2 separate regions of the Homo sapiens genome follow, and region 1 is linked to region 2. The links are contacts of gene promoters, found by promoter capture Hi-C in human tissues and cell types (Jung and others, 2019). All regions are on one chromosome and are shown on one strand. Each heading gives the region's core, a stretch centred on a gene start or on the middle of the fragment in contact. The rest is flanking DNA. Distances are from core to core; before and after follow the strand shown. Region 1 overlaps ZZEF1 (zinc finger ZZ-type and EF-hand domain containing 1). Region 2 holds the start of ITGAE (integrin subunit alpha E).

The links. The method cuts DNA at HindIII sites, captures the fragments that hold promoters and counts their contacts. A contact is called where the count stands out against the background at its distance.
Region 1: a fragment that was not itself captured here is called in contact with the fragment with the promoter of ITGAE in region 2 in 1 of the 25 tissues and cell types used here (dorsolateral prefrontal cortex).

The regions. Positions count from the first base shown.
Region 1 is chr17:4,062,945-4,069,501 of GRCh38, forward strand. ZZEF1 (zinc finger ZZ-type and EF-hand domain containing 1) reads right to left here. Exons shown (of 55, transcript NM_015113.4): 27 at 4,219-4,298; 28 at 3,503-3,596; 29 at 1,417-1,885. Among named protein-coding and RNA genes, the nearest start is that of ZZEF1, 77 kb to the right of the region's middle. The HindIII fragment of the contact is 6,989 bases long and covers 333-6,557 here.
Region 2 is chr17:3,798,639-3,805,559 of GRCh38, forward strand. ITGAE (integrin subunit alpha E) reads right to left here and starts at 2,550. Exons shown (of 31, transcript NM_002208.5): 1 at 2,473-2,550. The coding sequence starts at 2,506. It overlaps NCBP3 (nuclear cap binding subunit 3), which reads right to left. Exons shown (of 13, transcript NM_001114118.3): 13 at 3,520-6,921. RefSeq lists enhancers at 1-26, 207-266, 277-326. The HindIII fragment of the contact is 9,203 bases long and covers 1-6,921 here.

The sequences.
Region 1 (6,557 bases), core at 2,577-5,076, 270 kb after region 2:
CCCAGAAAACTCTTGAGCTGGGGCAGACGGAAAATATCCCCGCCAAAGCCCTGATGCCATATATCAAAGAGGAAACACTATTGTGAGGTATTAGAAACACCATGTAGGAGAAGTACCAATACCTCTTTACTATTTTTAAGTCATCACTCAGCAGCACTACAAATCAGTTCATGCCAACTGTCCAGAAGTCCGACAACCCATTATTTAACTTAACGAATTAAAAAGGAACATTGATATTTTCACTTTCCATAGAGACAAAGCCTTAATTCTTAGGACAGGAAATTCCTCACTAACTTAAACATGCAATACTTCCAGAGATGTAGGCCTATGAACAAATAATTTTGTTGGAAAATATCAAATCCTGGCTGGGTGTGGTGGCTCATGCCTGTAACCCTCTGATGCAGAAAGATTCCTTGAACCCAGGCATTTGAGACCAGCCTGGGTAACATAGGGCGGCCATGTTTCTAGAAAATGCCAAATCCAAATTTCTCCCTGGGTTAAAATAAGACAGTTTTATAAGTGGCAGCTACCCAAAAAATGCTTCCTTTTAAAATTCTAACGGTACGTTCTTGAGATATACTTTATAAACAGTATAATATATAAATCTTACATGAAAAAATATCTTTTTTTTGTTTTTCAGACAGTCTTGCTCTATCACCCAGGCTGGAGTTAAGTGGCATAATCTTGACTTACTGTAGCCTCAACCTACCTGGCTCAAGTGATCCTCCTGCCTCAGGCTCCCAGGTAGCTGGGACTACGGGCAGGTGCCACCACACTCAGGTCATTTTTTTTTTTTTTTTTGAGACAGAGTCTTGCTCTGTCGCCCAGGTTGGAGTACAGTGGCGTGATCTCGGCTCACTGCAACCTCTGCCTTCCAACTTTGAGCAATTCTCCTGCCTCAGCCTCCCGAGTAGCTGGGATTATAGGCATCCACCACTACGCCCAGCTAATTTTTGTATTTTTAGTACAGATGAGGTTTCACCATGTTGGCCAGGCAGGTCTCGAACACCTGACCTCGGGTGATCCACCTGCCTCAGCCTCCCAAATTGCTGGGATTACAGGCGTGAGCCACCGCACCCAGCCTCAGCTAATTTTTAAAAAAAATTTTTTGTAGATGGAGGGGGGGGGGTCTCACTATGTTGCCCAGGTTGGTCTTGAATTCCTGATCCCAAGTGATCCTCCCACTTTGGCCTCCCAAACTGCTGAGATTATAGGCATGAATCACCGTGCCCACCCAAAAATTACTTCTTTAAAGAAAAAAAAAAAAATCAAAACTTTTCTTGAATATTCTAAAACAAGTCTTGATCTATCCTAAATATTATTTGTTCGTTTTTAACATGAACTTCAAGCCTCTGACTAGACTGGGTACCTACGGCTTAAAAAGAGAAAGCGACAGGAAGGTAACAACGGGCTTACCTCCTGTGCGAGAGCGACTGATCCTTAATGAAGTCCATGACGTCCTTCAGCACAGGGTATTTCTCTTTCACTGTGGGCACCAGTCTGGCCTCCTCCATGGATCGAAAGGAGAGCAGCCGGAGTCGCCCTCGGGTGAAGGGAGGCCGGCGGGTGGGTGTGGAAGGTGACAAGGGCTCTTCAGCTGTGGCAGGGGACACGTCTGCAGCAGGAAGGCCACTGCTGGATGGCAGCTTTGGCTGGGTGCCCAGGCCAGGACTCTGGTCTCCTGTGGCAGGGGGTGCGGCTTCAGTGGGAGATACTGAGGCTTGGAAATGCTCTTCCACCACAGAGCTTGTCCTCTGACGCTTGTTGAGTGGCTGGAGATGACTGGTTTCATCAGCAGTCTCCAACTTTTCGCAGCTTTCTTTTGAACTTATGCCCGTGGGCAGAAATTTTAGTAATAGAAGACTCTTCTCAATGCACTCTTTTGCTAGATGCAAACAAGAATCATAATTGAAAAAAAAAAAAGTTAAAATTATGGGGGAGGGGGAGGGGAGAGGGATAGCATTAGAGGATATACCTAATGTAAATGATGAGTTAATGGGTGCAGCACACCAACATGGCACATGTATACATATGTAACAAACCGGCACGTTGTGCACATGTACCCTAGAATTTAAAGTTAAAAAAAAAAGTTTAAATTTATTGCCTACTTCTGTAGAGAAAATAAGTTAAATGTCACAATTTAGGGCAAGAGACAGCTTCATGAATAAAGTGATATAGGCCTAGTGTGGTGGCTCACGCCTGTAATCCCAGCACTTTGGGAGGCCAAGGCAGGAGGATCACTTGGGGTGATACCTCAGCTTGGGTAACATGGTGAAACCCAATCTCTATAAAAAAACAATAAATTAACCAGACATGGTGGCACACGCCTATAATCTTATCTACTTGGGAGGCTGAGGCTGAAGGATTGCTTGAGTCTGAGAAGTTGAAGCTGCAGTGAGCCGAGATCATGCCACTGCATTCCAGCTTGGGCGAAAGAGTGAGACACTGTCTCCAAAAAAAAAAACAAACAAAAAAACCAAAAAACGAAAAAGTGATACACATATTTACTGACAGAATAGAAGAACAGAATCAAATTTTATCTCATTATAGAAATCAAAATCTCGCCAGTACTATCAGCACACTTTTTAGAAAAAGTTTTATTGTAGATGTTTTCAAACATGTATATAGAGAAAATACCATAAGGACCCTTCCATGTACCTGTCACTCAGCTTCCGTCATTATTAACTCACGGCCAATCTTGTTTCACCCCCATCAACCCCTCACTCCCCGGATTACTTCCACACACATTCCAGCACCACACTATTTTATCTGTAAAAATTTTTAGCATATTTCTCTTAAAAATATATGAGTTTTAAAAAATAACAACCATAATATTTAAAAAATAATAGTAATTCTTTTATTTCACTGAATATTCAGTGTGAGCACACTTTAAAATCATAACAAGGCCAGGTGCAGTGGCTCATGCCTATAATCCCAGCACTTTGGGAGGCTGAGGTGGGAGGATCACTTGAGGCCAGGAATCTGACACCAGCCTGGGCAACACAGTGAGACCCCTTCTCTAAAAAAAAGTTTTTAATTGCTTAACACAGGCGATACAAAGAGGAAAAAAAAATTTGCCAGGTGTTGTGGCACCTGCTTGATGTCCCAGCTACCCGGTAGGCTAAGGCGGGAAGATTGCTTGAGCCCAGGAGTGGGAGGCTGCAGTGAGCTATATGACTGAACCACTGCACTCCAGCCTGGGAGACAGAACGAGACCCCATCTCAAAAAAGAAAAAAGATGTAGCTCAAAAAGCACCTGATGCCGCCTAAGAGAAGTGATTAGAAAGATGTTCCATTTGGAGCAGGCCAATAAAACATTACTCCTCTTTGGGATTTTCTCTATTTATGATACATCCTTGGATACTATATTTAGCATCTGTGTTACTTTCCCTAGGTCAACACAGCCTCAATTAAGATAATCTAGAAGGTGAGTAATTGGTTTTCCAGGCTCTAAAACGAAAACAGAAGGCTCAGGGACAACAGCTGGTGTTAGCACACTCACCCAGGCTCTCAGGGTTCACCTCAGTAGCTTCTGAACTATGTTTTTCTTCTGCTTCATTCCCCAGGCTCATCAGGGACTTCTGCTTCATCTCTAACTAGGGGAGAATTTGAGCCACATCATTATGCTGTCCAGGCAGGGAAGCAAGGACAGCCATGGCAAACTACTTCAAAAGCACACAGCACTGACACCACAGAGTACTTCACAGTTGTATCATTTAGAGGGGTTTGTAATACTCACAACCTTATTACTTAAAAATTTCTAGAACACTGGTGCTGCAGGGGGCTTTCTCTAAAGCCTATCTAGTACTGATAAAGAAGAAGCTGAGATCTAGAGAAATGAAGAGTCTTACTAGGGTCATAAACCCAGTCTGCTGCAGATTGAACCAAAATTTCAGAGGGGACATCTCTACGTGATGCTGAGACCTAAAACTGGCCATGGTTACCTAGTATCTAAAGCGATGCTGTTCCGCCAACTCTACGGAGTTCCACGAAGGGATGTAAAGAGGGGTCAACTAAATTCTGTTTCCTCTATTTTCAACTGTCCAGACTATAATTTCAAGGGTTCTAAATTGTTTTATATCTATTCATGTCACTAAACTTTAGCTTAACAAAAATCCTAAAGCTATATTCTTGAGAAGAGAACAATTCATCTTAATTCCATGATATCACGGTAGAAAACCTAAAATATAGCAAAATCACATGCAAAGAAAATCTTACCATCCATATTCGAATCCCATCTGCCAAGGAATAAACCTGGGCAAACTCTTCACTCAGGGCTATTTTGCCCCCACTGTTGACTGGGGAGAGAAGCAGAGATGGAGATTACATTCAGGTAACACAATTCACTACTGCAACATTAAGCACAAAAAATCTAAATCTGCTGAAGTACAGGAAAAGTCCTCCTGACAATCACACATTGAGGATGGTAAGAGAGACTCAGGGAAAAAAATATTCAATTAAGCCACAAATACCTGTGTGGGTTCCTGTGTTATTTCAAACTAACTTTTTTCAAACTAATAATTTCTAAAATGGAAATAATTTTAAAAGTGTGTAAAATATTAAAAGATATAAAAATACTAAAAGTAAAAATTTTAGAATATTAACAGTGAGTAAAAAAGTATTTATTGATATGGAAGAAAGTTCATGGTATATTAAGTAAAAAAGCAGGTTATGAAACAGTATAAATAAAATGATCTTATTTAAAGAGAGTTTATATATTTAAAACATGGAAGCCAAGTGCAGCAGCTCATGCTTATAATCCCAGCACTTTTTATTTTTATTATTCTTATTGTTTAAATTTTTTTAAGAGATAGGGTCTTACTCTATCACCCAGGCTGGAGTGCAGTGGCACCATCATAGCTCCCTGCAGCCTCAAACTCCAATCCCAGTGCTTTGGGAGACTGAAGGTAGATTGCTTGAGGCCAGGAGCTCGAGACCAACCTAGGCAACATAGCAAGACTCTGTCTCTACAAAAAATAAAAAATTGTCCAGGCACACCGGCATGCACCTGTAGTCCTAGCTACTAGGGAGGCTGAGGTAGGAAGATCACTTGAGACCAGGAATTCAAGGTTACAGTGAGCTACAACTGTGCCCCTGCACTCTAGCCTAGGCAACAGAGCAAGACCCTGTCTCTAAAAACAAACAAAAAAATAAAATGTGTATGGATACACATATATATATACAAATATACATACATATGAATATACCTACATAAAGTCCAGGTAAATAGAAAAACATTCATAAAGGTTCTAAGTGGTGAGACTGTAGCTGATAATTATTTTAAGCTTTTCTATACTTAGGTTGCTACATAAACAGGTTTTGTTTATAATTAGAAAAATAACAATTTTTTTTGAGACAGAGTTTTGCTCATTTCCCAGACTAGAGTGCAATGGCGCGATCTTGGCTCACTGCACCCTCTGCCTCCCGGGTTCAAGCAATTCAAGCAATTCTCCTGTCTCAGCCTCCCGAGTAGCTGGAATTACAGGCACCTGCCACCACACCTGGCAAATTTTTGTATTTTTAGTAGTGACAGGGTTTCATCATATTGGCCAGGCTGGTCTCAAACTCCTGACCTCTGGTGATCCACCTGCCTTGGCCTCCCAAAGTGCTGGGATTACAGGCGTAAAGCCACTGCACCCAGCCTAACAAAAAAAATTTTTAAAGAAAGATCTATGAGGCTTGCCCCTTCTCTTCAGCTAAAACCCAAAGGATAATATACTAGAACAGCATGAAGCTCTCTTTTGCATCTATGTTACAATGCAGTAAGTAATTCCTGAAGCCCTGGAATACGCCAGGGCTGTACCAGACACTGGGAATATTATGCTGAGAAAAACAAAGTTCCTGCCCTCAAGCAGCTTATATTCAAGTTGAAAAACTCCTCCCCACCCTTTCTAACCCCAAAGAGTGACTAATTTTTAGACAAAGATGAGCAAATTTGCTAGACAAAGACCATTCTCAAAGTAGTTCAGTCTTAACTCAGAAATAGTCCTTAGACATATAATATCTATATCAATATCTATATCACAAAGGCAGAGACAGAAAGAACTAAGACAAGCCTGGCCTCCTTCAAACCAATAATGGCAGGCATTCTAGAAACAACCTGCACACAGCAAGACATTCCGAGTTCCCACAGTTGTAGAGTTCCCACAGTTGACTGTGTGTTTTCTCTTCTGCAAACAGGTATGTGGTATCTGAACACAGCCTGAAGTTTCCCACAGCAGGAAGCCTTCCATTTCTCAGCTTTTAACCCACAGGCTTTTATCCCTCTACTGAAAATTCCTTCAAGTAAAAAGATTATCCAGCTTTCTTACTATAATTTGATTACAAAAATACATATTGACATTCCCCCCGCCAAAACCATACAGGTTACATCACCCCCTCGATTCCTCAGCAGAGAAAAACTCTTCCATATGACATTTGTTTCCATAAATCACTCATGTCTCAACACAGTTTTGTTTATTTGAGCAGCTTTTTAAAGGAGATATTAAGATTTGGGGATGTAATCAAGATGTTTTAACAATCAGAAAATAAATTCTGCAATGTGAGATCCAAAGAAA
Region 2 (6,921 bases), core at 1,300-3,799:
CCCGAGTGCGTGCCACCAGCAGAGCGGGCCCTGGACTTCTGGTTCCTTCTTCTTCACCCCTGTAAGGTGTTGTAGGCTGACAGGACAGGCTTCTTCACGCAAGGGTGGAAACTCAACCTCTGAGACCCAGGATGGAGAAGTGAGTTGATGTGACTGCAGAATGAGTCAGGGGTGAAGACTGACTTGGGGACAGCAGGCCACAGGGTAAGAGGGCATGATGGGGCTGGTGGTCAGGGTGTGGACAGTTCCAGGGTTTCAGTGTCTGTCTGCACCCAATGCTTCTAAAATCTCCCTTAGACAACTGCTATTATTCCGTCTGCTGCCACAAATAAGAAGTAGGCATCACCAGAGTGGCTGGCCTGGAGAGAGTGGAAGGTCAGGGCCAGGCCAGGCCAGTCCTGGATTCTCTCCAGCCTAAGGAGGCCCAACCCGGCACAGGGTACAGGGTGCTGGGCCTGGAGCCACAGTCTGAGGGAGTTCTTCCTCCCAGCATCTCCTGGACATTTTCTTTCTCAGACTCTCCTCAGCCCCCAAGACTCAACGCCACCTCACCTCCTCCAGGAAACTCTCCTGGACTGGCCCATCCTAGTCTCAGGACCTCACAGCATGGAGCAGAACTGCAGCAGCCTCGTTTCCGCCACCCACACCGGAGCTGCGGGGGCCCTGCTCTGGTCCCCTTCCCGTGGCTGAGCTGAGCTGTGGGCTAAGTGGTCTCATGGCAAGTCTGCTCCATCATCGCTCTCTGCTGCCCATCAGCTTGGGAAGGGCCTAGGCCTCAAAAGAGGTTTGATCGATGCCACCTGCTGGAAAAGGCACTGAGGTGATGGGTGGTGGTCTCAGAGGCTAAAGGAGACAGATGAGCCACAGGAGTATTCTGGAGCTGGGAGGCAGGACAGAGGCCTGGGCTTGAGCCTCGTGTCTATTATCAGTTGCTTGCAAGCCTGGGTAGTCACTGCCCGCTCTGTGCCCCAGTCACCTCCTCTGTACTGGGAGAGGGTAGACAAGAGTCTAGTCTAAGCATCTGCTCCAGATATTCTTGGTAATGGGAGATCAAAGCCACAAGCCATAAAAAGAGTGAGACTCTCTCCACACCCCACATGTAACTAAAAACAGAGAAGTCTAAATTGTAAAATAAAAGGAAGTTCAACAAACTGTTGACCTTTCCATGGTGACTATTCTGATGTTTTTGAAATATAAAATATTAGGCCGGGCAAGGTGGCTCATGCCTGTAGTCCCAACACTTTGGGAGGCCGAGGCAGGTCGATCACCTGAGGGCAGGAGACCAGCCTGACCAATATGGTGAGACCCTGTCTCTACTAAAAATACAAAAATTAGCCAGGCGTGGTGGCAGGCGCCTGTAATCCCAGCTACTCGGGAGGCTGAGGCAGGAGAACTGCTTGAACCTGGGAGGCAGAAGTTATGGTGAGCCAAGATCCAGCCTGGGCTCCAGCCTGGGCAGCAGAGCAAGACTCTGTCTCAAAAAATAAAATAAAATAAAATGAAATATAAAATATTAAAATCTGTCCAAAAACGTGTTCCTTGCTGGTACCCTACACATTGTGGCCTGCTTCCTGGGTGATCTGGCCCCAGGTGGGATGCTAATCCCAAGTCCCCTCCCAGCACAGCCTCAGCCCATCTTTCAGGGAGAACTCAGCTACCAGGAGCCTTTCATCCACATAAGCTTGATGCCCATCCAATTCTCCGGCCAACCTCCTGAGCAGGGGCAGGAGACCCATGGGAAGTCTGCTCAGATCACTAGGCAGGACCACCCTGGCCTCCGGCTTAATCTTAGCAGCCTCCAGGGGCTCACCTGACCGTGCTGTCTCATCACAGGGGGCCCCCGAAAGGACTCATGGCTTGGCTTGCCCAGAGGCTTCCATGGGACAGTTAAAGGCTAAAATGGGACCCCCCAGGCAGCAGAAGTGCCTCCCCCCACCCCACATTCCAGTTTTTACCCTGGGCCTGACAACACAGGAAGCAGGCTCCCTGCCAACACTCACACCCTCTACCATACAGACACTTGCCCCCAGTCTCTGGTCAACACTCTCTCACAGGGTCCTCACCCTCATCAGCCCAACCCCTGCTCTGTAACAGAAGGGAGCTCTGCCAGGCGGAGCCTCCACACTCAGAGAACAAACTACAGAGTCAAGGACCTGCCCCAAGTGGGTGCCATGGGGAGAGGGCCTCGGTGGCGGGGGGAGGCTGGCTGGAGGAGGAACAGAATGGCAGAGCCCTGGAGTCCAAAGGCCCTGGCTGACAGAACTGGCAACACGAAGCCTCAGCCGCCCTTCCCAACAAGCCTGGGGCCCTGACCCACCGAGCAAGACTCCTTTCCTGGAGGAGCTGCCACTCTCTAACCTCTGGCTCTAACTGAGCCCCATCAGAGACAGACAGTCAAGGCTGTAGTCTGCAGACACCTGGCTGGAGCTGAGGGCACAGCAGCCCCTCGAAGCAGCGGGTGAGAGGACTTACTGGCTATGCAGAGCAGAGTGTGGAAGAGCCACATCCTTGCTGGAGCAGAGGCGGCTGTGTGGGAGCCGAGGCGAGTGCGACACATGGGCCGTGGCCCACTCAGCTTCCCCTCAGCCAGGAGGCCAGGAGGCGGGGACAGAAGCACACACACCAGCAAGGACCCACAGACCGGCACTTTCAACCAAACAGAGACACTCCGGCTCGTACACAACCAGCCGTGTGGCTTCCTCAGTTGTGGGCTGGACCCTAGGAGCTTAGGGGCCACTGTCAGCCCCACTCTACCACCCACACTTTGACCCACACTTTCATGGAATAGGGAGCTGAGGTTTGGCCAGGGCCACAGTTCTAGGTGTCCTCAGCAGATGCTGGAGGTGCAGGAGCAACGTGAATCCAGCCTGCCGTTCGTATCATCCATTTGAGTCGGTCCCCTGTCCTGCCTCAGAACCTACCACCAGACATCTCAGCCCAGCTTCCAGCCCAGGGTCCTCGGTGGTGGTTGCCTCAGCACTGAGACAGGCGTCCCCCTCCCATAGGAAGTGCCTCCCCAGCCAAAAACTGGGCTCTTGTACCAGCCCATGCACTCAAGGCCCTGGGGTTCTGGAGGGCCAGGTGAGTGGAAAGACCCAACGCACTGAGTGAAATCACTGCCTCGATTCAACTTCGGCTGCGTTCATTCTCTTTAAAACCAGGACAGCAACCTGACGTGGAAACTGACTGAACAGGACTCTGAGTTACCAGAATAACAGAAGTAAAATTCTATACATCTTCCAGCATACCTGTGATGCATCCCAGCATTCCACAGAACACGCCGTTGACAGCTGGCAGTCGTGTTTAAGTGCTGATCTGAGATCTGTACTGTGTGACCAAGTCTGTGACACAGAAGGAACTCTCCTGCACCCCTGCTCCCCAGGCTGCTGGAAGTGCAGAGTGGCGCCGTCAAACAGAACTCTGCGCGGGGATGGAACTGCTCTAGGTCGACGCTGTCCAGGATGGTACTCATGAGCCACATATGGTACTAAACCCTTAAAATGCCACTAGAACAACTGATGAACTGAATTTTGTATATTTTATTTAATTTTAATTAAACGTAAAAAGGCAGGACATTCCAAGGCTCTCTAACACGAGTGTCTGCAGCCCCATTCGCTTTGAGATGTGAATGTGTTAACCCAGGGTGGACAATGGTGTTGACTTCATTACTAGATAAAAATCCATGTTATTTTGTTTCTCGCATTGAAAGGCTGCTTGGCTAAGGTTCTGTGAAGATCCGATGACATTTCCAACACTTTGCCTTGTCTGCTTTGCTCTGACAAAGTGCTTATGACTACTAGATCTTGCTCGGTTATGTGAGATTACAATTCACCGGTTTCCATCCTGTATGAAACAGAAGTTAAACAGTTGTAAAAGCAAAATTCCAGGTCTGGTGGTTTTCCTGCCAGGTCATGATGAAACCATCCTACTTCTGTTGAACCTCGTCCCAGGCAGGATCGGGGCCTGCGGCCTACAGCCTGTCTTCCCAGCGCTCCAGGGCTCGTGACCCTCCTCCTCCCCTCACTTCATTCTGCGCTCCAAGGGCACTGGGGAGAGTCACAGTGGTCTCCTCTCCCCCGCATTGGCCTAAAGCAGGAAGAGAGCAGCCCAGTCACTGAGCAGATCCCTGCTAGGGCAGGGCTAGAACCCAGACTGCAGCTCACTCGAGATTCCTGAGAGAAGACTTTGTGTTTGGAGTGTGAACGTCAGGGTGCCTCGGGAAGCCAGGGAAAGCTGATGACTGGGTGCTGGACAGGGAGCAGGGCCACTTCTGTACCTCTGCACACTTCTAGAATGCGGACTCATCCTGCATCCATCCAGTATGTATTTATCCAAGCGTCAGTGCCTCTAGTCATGAGACACACAGGGGTCCGTAAAGCCCACCTGGCGGTAGCTGCTTTCCCCACAAACCCAAACTACATCCCCAAGGTCAGGGCCAGGCTCTGTTGAGTAATGCTCCCCATCACAGCACGCAGCACAAGGCTGGCTGTTTGACAAATACACACATAACCAAAAGACATGTGAATGTGGTTTCCCAACTCACTTTAAACAAATATTCCGGGACCAACTTCAAGGACGTTCTACAACAGAAACTGGACTGTACTCTTCACAAACATCAATGTCATGAAAGACAGAAAGGCTGAGGACCTGCTCCAAACGAAAGGAGGCTGCAGAGAGGACAACTAAAGGCAGCGCTTGATCCTGGATTGGATCCTGGACCAGAAAAACAACGGCTTTCAAAATCATTATTGGGACAGTTGGCAAATTTGAAACAGGAACTACAAATTAGCAACTCCTGGGCTGATCAGAGAATATTACACATTTCCTGAATTTGAGAACTGTACCATGGGCATGTGAGAGGCTGTCCCTGTTCTTGGGAAATGTTCACTAAAACATCTTACGGATAAACGAGCATGATGTATACAAATAATCCTCAAATGGTTCATGGTTCAGAGAGGATAGGAAGAAACAGGGGTGAGGGAGAAGAGGAGGGAACGAATGAAAGAGAAAATGTGGCAAAATGTTCTTTGTTGTACCCTTCAAACTGCTGTGATTTTGAAATTATTTCAAAATAAAGTTTTAAATATTTTAAAAAATTTTTTTCTTTCTCCCCTTGATACCAGGAAGAATAAAGTTTTTAAAAAATGGGCAGGTGGGCCAGGCGCGGTGGCTCACGCCTGTAATCCCAGCACTTTGGGAGGCCGAGGCGGGCGGATCACAAAGTCAGGAGATCGAGACCATCCTGGCTAACACGGTGAAACCCGGTCTCTACTAAAAATACAAAAAAAATTAGCCAGGCGTGGTGGCGGGTGCCTGTAGTCCCAGCTACTCAGGAGGGTGAGGCAGGAGAATGGCGTGAACCCAGGAGGCGGAGCTCGCAGTGGGCGGAGATCATGCCACTGCACTCCACTTGGGTGACAGAGCGAGACTCCGTCTCAGAAAAAGTGGCCAGGTGCACTTGTAGTCACAGTTACTTAAGAGGTTCAAGCTACTTGGGAAAGCTTGAGCCCAGGAGTTTGAGTCCAATCTAGACAACATAGTATGAACCTGTCTCTTTAAAAAAAAGTTGCAAAATGTTCATGGATGGAGGAGACGTGCTCGGCGTGAGGTGAAAGGGCTGCCTGTGGGTCGGGCGTGGTAGCTGACACCTGTAATCCCAGCACTTTGGGAAGCCGAGGTAGGCGGATCGCCTGAGTTCAGGAGTTTGAGACCAGCCTGGGCAACATGGTGAAACCCTGTCTTTACTAAAAACACAAAAAATTAGCCAGGCGTGGCAGCGTGTGCCTGTAGCCCCAGCTTCGGGAGGCTATGGTGGGAGAATTGCTTGAACCTGGGAGGCGGAGGGTGCAGTGAGCCGAGACTGCGCCATTGCACTCCAGCCTGGGCGACAAGAGCAAGACTTCATCTCCAAAAAAAACAGAAAGGGCTGCCTGCTGTCTTCAGAGTGAGTCAAAAGCACTGAGGCACAGCCTTCAGACACAGGAAATGGTTCTATTCTCCCACTTGCCTTCTGACTCTTAGGAAGCCAGAAAGAGTGACGGCATTGCTGAGACCAGAGCCCAGGGCTGCAGAGCAGTGGTACTCACGACCTTTGAACACTCGGTAGGAGTGCCCTGCTCAGTGCCAAGGCCTCACATGCGAGCCCTCATCTGAGCCTCTCAGCCACCTACAAGGTCAACCCGATTTCTCAGATAAGGATGCTGCCTCTGAGAGGCCACATAGCTAGTAAGGAGCAGAGCTGGGACTCCAAACAGGCCTGTTTCCTCCAGAATCAGGACTCTGAACCACCACAAACTCTCCTGCCTTCAGCTCTTTTGGTGTGTAGACTTTTTTTATTTTTGTTTTTGAGATGGAGTCTTGCTCTTTCATCCAGACTGGAGTGCAGTGGCACAATCTCAGCTTACTGCAACCTCTGCCTCCTGGGTTCAAGCGATTCTCCTGCCTCAGCCTCCCGAGTAGCTGGGACTACAGGTGCCCGCCACCACACCCGGCTAATTTTTGTATTTTTAGTAGAGACGGGGTTTCACCATGTTGGCCAGGCTGGTCTCGAACTCCTGACATCAGGTGATCCCCGCCTCGGCCTCCCAAAGTGCTGAGACTACAGGTGTGAGCCACGTGCCCAGCTAGGTGGTGTGTAAACTTTAAAAAAGCAGAGATTTCATCCCACAAATGCAGACTGGGATCTCCACATGACCAGGTGCTGTGGACTGAACTGTAAATGTCCTCCAAATTCATATGTTGAAGCCCTAACCCCCAATGTGGCTCTTCTTGGACATATGGCTTTTAGGAAGTAATTAAGGTTAGATGAGGTCATAATCCAGCAAGATTGGTGGCCTTACAAGAGCCATGTGCAGGCACCAAGAAAAGCCTACGTGAATAAGACAGCAAGAGGGTGCTCACCATGTTGGCATCCTCCGGCCT